Regions from separate parts of the Homo sapiens genome. Here all the other regions are linked to region 2. Evidence: promoter capture Hi-C in 16 types of primary human blood cells and fetal thymus (Javierre and others, 2016). All regions are on one chromosome and are shown on one strand. Each heading gives the region's core, a stretch centred on a gene start or on the middle of the fragment in contact. The rest is flanking DNA. Distances are from core to core; before and after follow the strand shown. Region 1 overlaps SPECC1 (sperm antigen with calponin homology and coiled-coil domains 1). Region 2 holds the start of SPECC1 (sperm antigen with calponin homology and coiled-coil domains 1). Region 3 overlaps SPECC1 (sperm antigen with calponin homology and coiled-coil domains 1).

Region 1 (2,700 bases), core at 139-2,638, 190 kb after region 2:
AACCCTTGCCTTTTATTAAGAGGGGCACTTTGTCCTCTTGAATCAGAGACTAATTTTTCAGACTTGTTTCATGGATATCATTTTGAGACTTCTCTTGACTGGTTTCCTGTAATAGAGCCACTGCTTTCTCTTCCTCTTTGGTTTCCTCCCTTGTTTTTCTGGAACACATCCTCAAATAACTTCCTTAGAAAGGGTATTAACAGTTTAATTTTCTCAGTTTTTGCATGCTTTAAAATGTATTCTACCTCTGTGATTGATTTATAGTTCATCTGGGTAGAGAAATCTAGGTTGAAAGTCATTTTCCCTCCGAACTTTGAAGGCTTTTGCTTTGTTGCCTTCTAGGCTACATATGTGGTAATGGAATTGCAGGATCTTATGGTAGCTTTTTTTTTTTTTTTTTTTTTTTTGAAACAGAGTCTTACTCTGTTGCCCAGGCTGGAGTGCAGTAGTCTGATTTCAGCTCACTGCACCCTTCGTCTCCTGGGTTCAAGCAATTCTCCTGCCTCAGCCTCCCAAGTAGCTGGAGTTACAGGCATGTGCTGTGGCGCCCAGCTAATTTTTGTATTTTTAGTAGAGACAGGGTTTTGCCATGTTGGCCAGGCTGGTCTTGAACTCCTGACCTCAGGTGATCCACCTGCCTCGGCCTCCCAAAGTGCTGGAATTACAGGCGTGAGCCACCGTGCTGGTTTTTTTTTTTTTTTTTTTTTTTTTTTTTAAATAGAGACAGGGTCTTTCTCTGGTCACCCAGGCTGGAGTACAGTGGTGTAATCTCAGCTCACTGCAGCCTCAAACTCCTGGGCTCAAGTGATCCTCCTACCTCATCCTTCCAAGTGGCTGGGACCACAGGTGCATGCCCCCATTCCCAGGCTAATGTTTAAATATTTTTGTGTAGAGATAGGGTCTCACTCTGTTGCCCAGGCTGTTCTTGAACTCCTAGTCTCTAGTGATCCTACTGCCTTGGCCTTATTTTAAACTTTTTGAGGAAACTCCATACTGTTCTCCATAATGGTTGTACTGATTGACATTCTCACCAACAGTGTACAGGGGTTCCTTTTTCTCCATATCCTCACCAATACTTGTTATCTTGTGTCTTATTTTATTTTATTTTTTGAGACAGAGTCTCGCTCTGTTGCCCAGGCTGGCGTGCAGTGGCGTGATCTTGGCTCACTGCAACCTCCGCCTCCCGGCTTTAAGTGATTCTCTTGCCTCAGCCTCCTGAGTAGCTGGGACTACAGGCGTTTGTGGCACCACCGCCCGGCTAATTTTTGCATTTTTAGTAGAGATGGGGTTTCACCACGTTGGCCAGGATGGTCTCGATCTCCTGACCTTGTGATCCACCCGCCTTGACCTCCCAAATGTAGTACCCATTCTAACAGAAGTGATATCTCATTGTGGTTTTAATTTGCATTTCCCTGATGATTAGTGCATTTTTTTCATATACAGTTTGGCTAACTCCTGTTTTCTAATTTATTGCACAGATGTAATCATAAAAGAGAAACAGTAACATTACTCACAGACCAACCAGCTTAATACTCAGCTGTTCTCAATATCATGTGTTCTGTTATAGTTTGTGAATGCTTATTTTATATGAATTCTATGAATGCTTAGTTTGATGTACTCGTGATTGACCACAGTATAATTTTTCATTGGCATTTAAAAAATGTCACACTTCAAACATGTTTCTTCTTTATGATTGTGTTAATCTTCATAATTATGAGATGGAGCTTGCTTTTATGTTAACTTCTTGGAATCAGCCAGCCTCAGGAGGATGGTACACATAAGTGATGACGGGGTGGGAGCAGCACAAAAGATCCAATGGTGCTGGCTGAGCCAATCCCTGTTCCACTGGCCCTTCTCTCCACTGTCCCTTATGTGGTGCTGTGTAAGGAAGCATGGCCAGTCTCAGGACTTCAGAGTGCTTTGGTTAGCAGTGAGGTCTGACTCCCACTGCTTCAAGGAGGTGTCGTAAGCTGTAGGGCTGTTGCTCTTTACTTTTCCCTGTCAGTACCCACGAGGAGGTGTGTTTGGGCTGGAGGCCTGGGCTCACATGGTGGGTGCACAACCAAGACCATCATCATTGGTCTGATGATGAATTTTTAGCAACTCTGAACCTAACCTGTGCTCTGTAACAGTTTCTGAAATGAGGTGTACAGAGATGGGAAGAATCTTTTGGAAAACAGAGACAGACATAGTAAAAAAAAAAAAAAAGGAAAAAGAATAGATATAACAAAAATATGGCTGGATTGTACATTTCATAATACACATCCATTCATAAATATACTTTAGTTTCATGGTTTTTTAAAAATTCCTAGTAGTATAGATAAGGCAGAAGTAACACTTATGGGGAGAACAGACTGCAATTTGGCAGCAAAAGGAAGGTGTTAAACTGTAGCTGGAAATAACAGCAGACTTGATCTGTTCTATATTAATTTTTCCAGCTTCAAAACCAACAAACAATTGAAGGTTTAAAAAAAAGAAAGTGGCTGGGCACGGTGGCTCACGCCTGTCATCCTAGCACTTGGGAGGCCAAGGCGGGGAGATCACCTGAGGTCAGGAGATCGAGACCAGCCTGGCCAACATGGTGAAACCCCATCTCTACTAAAAAAAAAAAAACAAAAAAACGAAATACAGTAAATTAGCCGAGCATGGTGGCTCGCGCCTGTAGTTCCAGCTATTCGGGATGCTGAGGCAGGAGAATCA
Region 2 (2,700 bases), core at 185-2,684:
ACCAAACAACATTAGACATTCAAAAAGAAAATTATTGCCCATCTCATTTTTGCATATCAATGCAAAGCCTGTAAATAAAATATTAGCAAACAGAATCAAGCAGTATATTTAAAAAAAAAAGACAAGTTTATTGCAGGGATAAACTGGGTTTTTATTAGGAATTTATTATAACTAGGACTCATTACTTCAATATGAGGAAATCAGCTGTCACCCGGTTTGCTCGTCCTTACAGACATCTCCCTCCTCTTCCTCTCTTCCTTTCCAGTGAAAATGTCTTCAAGTTTCCTCTACCAAACCAAAACTTCACCCCACTTCTTTTATTCTTTCCTCCTCTCTTCTCAGAACAAAGGGGTTGTTGCTGACCAGCCCAGGGTTTCTTATTTGGGGCCGGATCATTCTTCCTTGTGGGGCAGTCCTGTCCTTCAGGTAGGATGTTGAGGAGCACCCTCGTGTCTACCCACTTAGGCAACAGTAGCAACTCCCGCATCATGACAACCAAAAATGTCTCCAGACCTCCCCAAATGTACGCGGGGCGGCGAGGAGGGGCAACACCGGCCCTGGTCGAGAACCGCTAGCCTAGGCTCGCCCCTCTACCTGGGCGCCACAACTTGCCAGGGTTGGTTATTCTCCCTGGATCCTTTCCTTCCTCCTCATTTGAGCTTCACGCCCTCAAGTATGACCAAAGGTTCTGTCATTCCACTCCTGCAGTTTTCATTAAGGTCTTAGGCCACTTCCATGTCAAGAAACACAGTGGCTCTTTCTAACCCCTGGCCATGAGGCACCCCTGGAGGAGGAGCCGTGAGGGTAGGGAAGATGCTGAGGGGGATGTTGACCTTGCCGACTTCCAGGCGCCTCCGCTGCATCCCGGAGGAGGCGTTGGGCGGTGAGGGTGCAGCGGGGGGGCGGGCCCCGCAGGATGAGGTGTCCGTGTGCGGCTAGCGCCACAGGCAAGACCGGGCTCCTTGCGGGGCGGAGGTGAGGCCGTGAGCATAGCTCTCAAACTGGAGGGCGCCTCAGAATCACTTGACGGGCTTGCGAGAATGTGGACTGCTGGGCCCCACCTTCATGGTTTTAGTGCAGGAAAAACCGAATAGGCTGGGTGGGACGGAGAATCTGCATTTTCTCAAGTTCCCAGATGAGGCTGAAGCTGCTGGTCCGGGCACCACCCTTAGAAAACCTCCAGTGTAGAGTGCGGAAATGGGGTCCACATCTGGCTTGGGACGCCCAAACATCGATTATGTGCGACCAGAGGATGAGCAGATAGGGAGATGAGACACTGAGAGCTGGGAGAGAGGGGGCCCCCGGCCGCCGGCTGAAGGAGGACGGCGCAGGCGGCGGTCCGGGTACTACATCTCCCAGCGAGCCCCGCGCGGCTCGCGCTCGCCCCCTGGCGGCGATGGCTGGAGGCGCCGGCGGAGCGCGGGTCCCTCTCCTGAGCATCAGTGAGCGCCCGGAGCCGTGGCCGCTGGGGGTTGCGGCGGCGCTGAGCCAGCGGGGCCGGTGAGTACTAGCCGCGCCGCCAGCCCGCCCGCCGGCCGGCTCTTTGCGCCTCAGCCGCGTGGTCTGAAGGGATGGGCGGGCGAGCGCGGGGGTCCGGCAGTCCGTCGTGGGGGCACGGGACTGCCTTTCTGGGAAGGCGTGCTGCGTCTTCGCCGCGGGGGCCCCGGTCCCCTCGTCGCGTGTCCTGTCCCCAGCCCAGGAGGGACGTCCTGGCCTGTCCTGCCCGGCCCGGAGCGGTGGGACCGGTGCCGCAGGTGGCAGCGGCAGGTGGCCGCCTCCTCCCCTCCGGGCCCGAGGGTTGTCGCAGGGACCCGGGACTGAGAGCCAGGTGGCTCCCGACAGCTGCGGCCCTGGAGGCGACCCCAGCCCTCGCCGCAGTGGGACAGGTGCGCGGGCACGCCCGGCCCCGGCTCCTGGGTCTCGGGAGCCTCCCGCACCCTCCCTGTTGTGCCTTGGGGGTGCTGCGTGGTGCAGAGGACCGAGAAGCCCTTCGCCCTCGGCGTCCGCCGCGCTCCCGCCCCTTCCTGGCCGGGGTGACAGGGGAAGGGCTAGGGCTGCGCATCCCGGGTCAGCTGGGGCGCCGCGGCGCAGTGCACCTGGAAGGCCCGGGGGCAGCGCGCGGTGCCCGTGGGTTTCCCGGTGGTGCGGACCTGCGGGCGTGCGGAAGTAACGACCTCCTTCCCCAGTGCCCATGCAAGGAAATTAGTGTTATGTGCTTGCTTTTTTTTTTTTTTTTTCCTAAGGAAGTTTGACTCTGAATATCTTATTTTGCTGGAGCTCCATTTGCCAGCACGTAAGTTTATGTAATAAGCGGCATACAGTTCGGAAAAAAATTTTCCTGTGAAAGTGCTCTTCCTTGCCCTCTGCAGGAAGAATTACGCCGAGCTGGTTGGCAGGCTTATCCACCAGCAACTGTAGGAGCTGCAGGCAGCAGATAAAGTGTTTTTTGAGTAAGGGCACAAGTCAGCCCTTCAGGACAATTTTTGTTTTTGGAAGATTCTGTTATCCAGTTCCAAACACCGTGTTATTTCAGTGTTGAAGATGGGGGAGGAGGGAGGAGCACAGGCTTGTCAATCCTAATACCTCAACAGAAATTAGCTTTGCAGGATTAACTCTCCAAGCAAGCGAGTTGAATTTGGTAGCCCAAACTACAGCTGAAGCTGAGCCTCCATACTAAAGCCTGTCTCAGTTTTAATAGTT
Region 3 (2,700 bases), core at 33-2,532, 240 kb after region 2:
ATCTTGCAAAACAGCTGTGGCAATATGATACAATGAAGAGAGCAGTGATTTAGCAATGAGAAGGTTGGGAGTTCTTGTCTTGGCTCCTTCACAGGGAGATCACATGACATGCCAAAGTCCCCTATATGAGGAAGCCATGCATTGAGAGGATTGAGGATTGGGTCAATGATCTATCATAGAATGCTTTCTATGAGTCTAGAAGCCTCATGAAGAACACACCAGGAAACTTGGGTGAGAGCAGGAGCTTCACCTCATGCAGAATTGCAGTGTGATTTTAGAGTGCTGTTACCATTCTTATGCTTAGAAGTCAGAGTGTCTGAATCAGGATTCTGTTGTGTATAATGGATTGCACTCTCGTTGGCTTAGGCAGAAAGGTGTTAAATGGTTTGCAGAATTGTTGGGAAGGCTGAGCTTCCAGGAGCAGCTCCCAAAGTCTCCACACACAACTGGACCACCAGGGAACCTGCTCCCTCCACCAGGACAGGAGCCTTAACTTCAGAAAGCTGCCCACCCAGTTGGAAAGCTGCCACCACAGTTGCCAGCACCATAGCATCTTGTCTCTGCTACAGTCTCTGTCTACATAGTGAATGCCCGGTGCCCTGCCTCTCTTCCTCTGATTCAGGTCCCACTCCAGGTCTTGCCCAAGTCTTTCTGATTGGTGGAACTTAAATCACACCCAAAATCCCAGCTGTAGGAGAGCTGTGAGATTTCATCTTTCCAAACTCTGTGTACTGCATGGGGGTTGGAGCACATGTCGGCAGCCGGTCCACTGCATTCACCATTGACAGTAGGTGAAATATTTATGGTCAATAACATTTGCATTTTTTCACAAAAAATGCACAATTTGCAGAGTAGCCATACACACTTTTTATTTAGAGCTAATATCAAGTCACTCTACATATAAAAATAATTATTTCTGACCATTTCCCAAGAAAACAGCTCTTCTAAAAATTGAGAGCAATGCCTACATTATTTCCTAAAGATGCAAACTGGTAGAGAAAACAGGATGTTAAATTCAGAATTTCCCTTCCAGCTTCATTTATTTTCTCCACATCAGTTCTGTTTTCCTCTGTGTCTTTTTCTCCCATGGGGATGTCCTCCATCTTTTCAATCTGATTTGCTCTTTGCCATGCAGACCTGTGGATGAAGAGCCAGAGTCCTCTGAGGTCGATGCTGCTGGTCGGTGGCCTGGTGTCTGTGTTAGCAGAACATCTCCAACACCCCCAGAGTCGGCAACCACCGTTAAGTCACTTATCAAGTCATTTGACTTGGGACGCCCAGGTATTTAATCATTTTTTCTATAAGCAAAGCTCCAAATTCAAACTTTGGCCCGACATTTGATATGTCTACTATCTCTACTCCACCCTGGCCCTGTGTTGTTACAACCACAAGGGCGCTTTCCAGGTCCTACCACGTGCAGCCACTGCATGCAGGAGCCTGGCTGAGGCTCCAGGGAGGCACTGATGGAGAGCCTGGCTCATGAATAACACAAATGCAGCCTCTTCCTCTCTACCGCTTCCTTCCATCCAGTTCCTGCCTTGCTACCTTTCTTTTCTGCCTCTCATAGCCATTAAATTCAGGTCACTACTATTTGCCTTTTTGTCATCTCATGAGAATTATGAGGGTCAGCTGGAGACTTCATCTCCTAGGAAACGAGACATCACATCTCTGCACCTGGCCCTCTTGGAGGCACCCCTGGCCATCCCCATCTTGCAACCTGCTAGACGTTTTTCTACCTGGTCTTGTACGTGAGCACCTGTGCTAATCTGTCACTCCTGATCTAGGTGTGTTCCCAGCTTTTCCTGGTGTTGTCTGATGGTCTCACAATTCCCCTTTAGTCATGCTTATCTTCCTATATGAGAAAGATGCGTAGCTATACTTCATACATATACTGTACACATAAACATAGCAAATAGAAGAAACAGAATGTGCATCTGTCTACAGTAACAATATCTTTCTTCCCCAGAGTGCAACAAACATGCCATTGTATTGGGAGACTGTAGTAAAAGTTAATCCTAGGATGTACCTGGTTGTCTCTGCTAAAATTGTTTGCACCTAAATTAGATTAAGACTAGACTCTACATATTCAAAGACATGAAAGCCTTTCATGTCTGTGAAGACAGGAAATGAATTAACAATTTGTACAAGAACTTTTCTGTTCCTTCCTTCTCTAGGCATCTCATTATTTATACAGTTTCTTTTTGCTCAGCTATCCTTCATCTAAGACTGACCTCCACTCAGCTAAATCTTCCCTTCTTGTTTCCCCAAAGCAGCTCTAGTCCGGAGAAGAAAAGGATAATAGAGTAAATATTACACTAAACACGGATACTCCTTAAGCCACCAAAAAAAGTAACAAGAAATCAGGAACAAGTATATGCTATTTTGAAGTGGAACAACATATAAATGTTCCCATGTTTTTTCTTGGCAGGTGGAGCTGGACAGAATATTTCTGTCCATAAGACCCCCAGAAGTCCCCTAAGTGGGATACCAGTGAGGACTGCTCCAGCAGCTGCTGTCTCTCCAATGCAGGTAGATGAGCCCCAGAAATAACCACTGCTTATGGTTTGCTGTGTATCCCTCTAGATGTTTTTCTTTACACATATTAGTGTCCGTGTGTGTATGTGTGTGTGTAGAGTATGTGTTTTGTAAATTGGATTGCACTATGCATTATTCCAATACTTATTTCACTTTATCATCGGA

The links. Contacts are between HindIII fragments. The CHiCAGO score rates a contact against its expected background, and 5 or more counts as called.
Region 1: a fragment that was not itself captured here is called in contact with the fragment with the promoter of SPECC1 in region 2 in 2 of 17 cell types (erythroblasts and M0 macrophages); the score reaches 5.4 in erythroblasts.
Region 3: a fragment that was not itself captured here is called in contact with the fragment with the promoter of SPECC1 in region 2 in 8 of 17 cell types (M2 macrophages, M1 macrophages, M0 macrophages and 5 more); the score reaches 9.8 in M2 macrophages.

What each region holds. Positions count from the first base shown.
Region 1 is chr17:20,198,698-20,201,397 of GRCh38, forward strand. All of the region lies in intron 3 of SPECC1 (sperm antigen with calponin homology and coiled-coil domains 1), which reads left to right. Among named protein-coding and RNA genes, the nearest start is that of SPECC1, 190 kb to the left of the region's middle. The HindIII fragment of the contact is 9,625 bases long and covers 1-2,700 here.
Region 2 is chr17:20,007,925-20,010,624 of GRCh38, forward strand. SPECC1 (sperm antigen with calponin homology and coiled-coil domains 1) reads left to right here and starts at 1,435. Exons shown (of 15, transcript NM_001243439.2): 1 at 1,435-1,500. It overlaps SPECC1-DT (SPECC1 divergent transcript), which reads right to left and starts at 1,336. Exons shown (of 1, transcript NR_186461.1): 1 at 131-1,336. RefSeq lists an enhancer at 237-804 and silencers at 1,237-1,906, 1,927-2,106. The HindIII fragment of the contact is 26,343 bases long and covers 1-2,700 here.
Region 3 is chr17:20,244,791-20,247,490 of GRCh38, forward strand. It overlaps SPECC1 (sperm antigen with calponin homology and coiled-coil domains 1), which reads left to right. Exons shown (of 15, transcript NM_001243439.2): 8 at 1,136-1,281; 9 at 2,429-2,529. Among named protein-coding and RNA genes, the nearest start is that of FAM106B, 170 kb to the right of the region's middle. The HindIII fragment of the contact is 2,846 bases long and covers 1-2,700 here.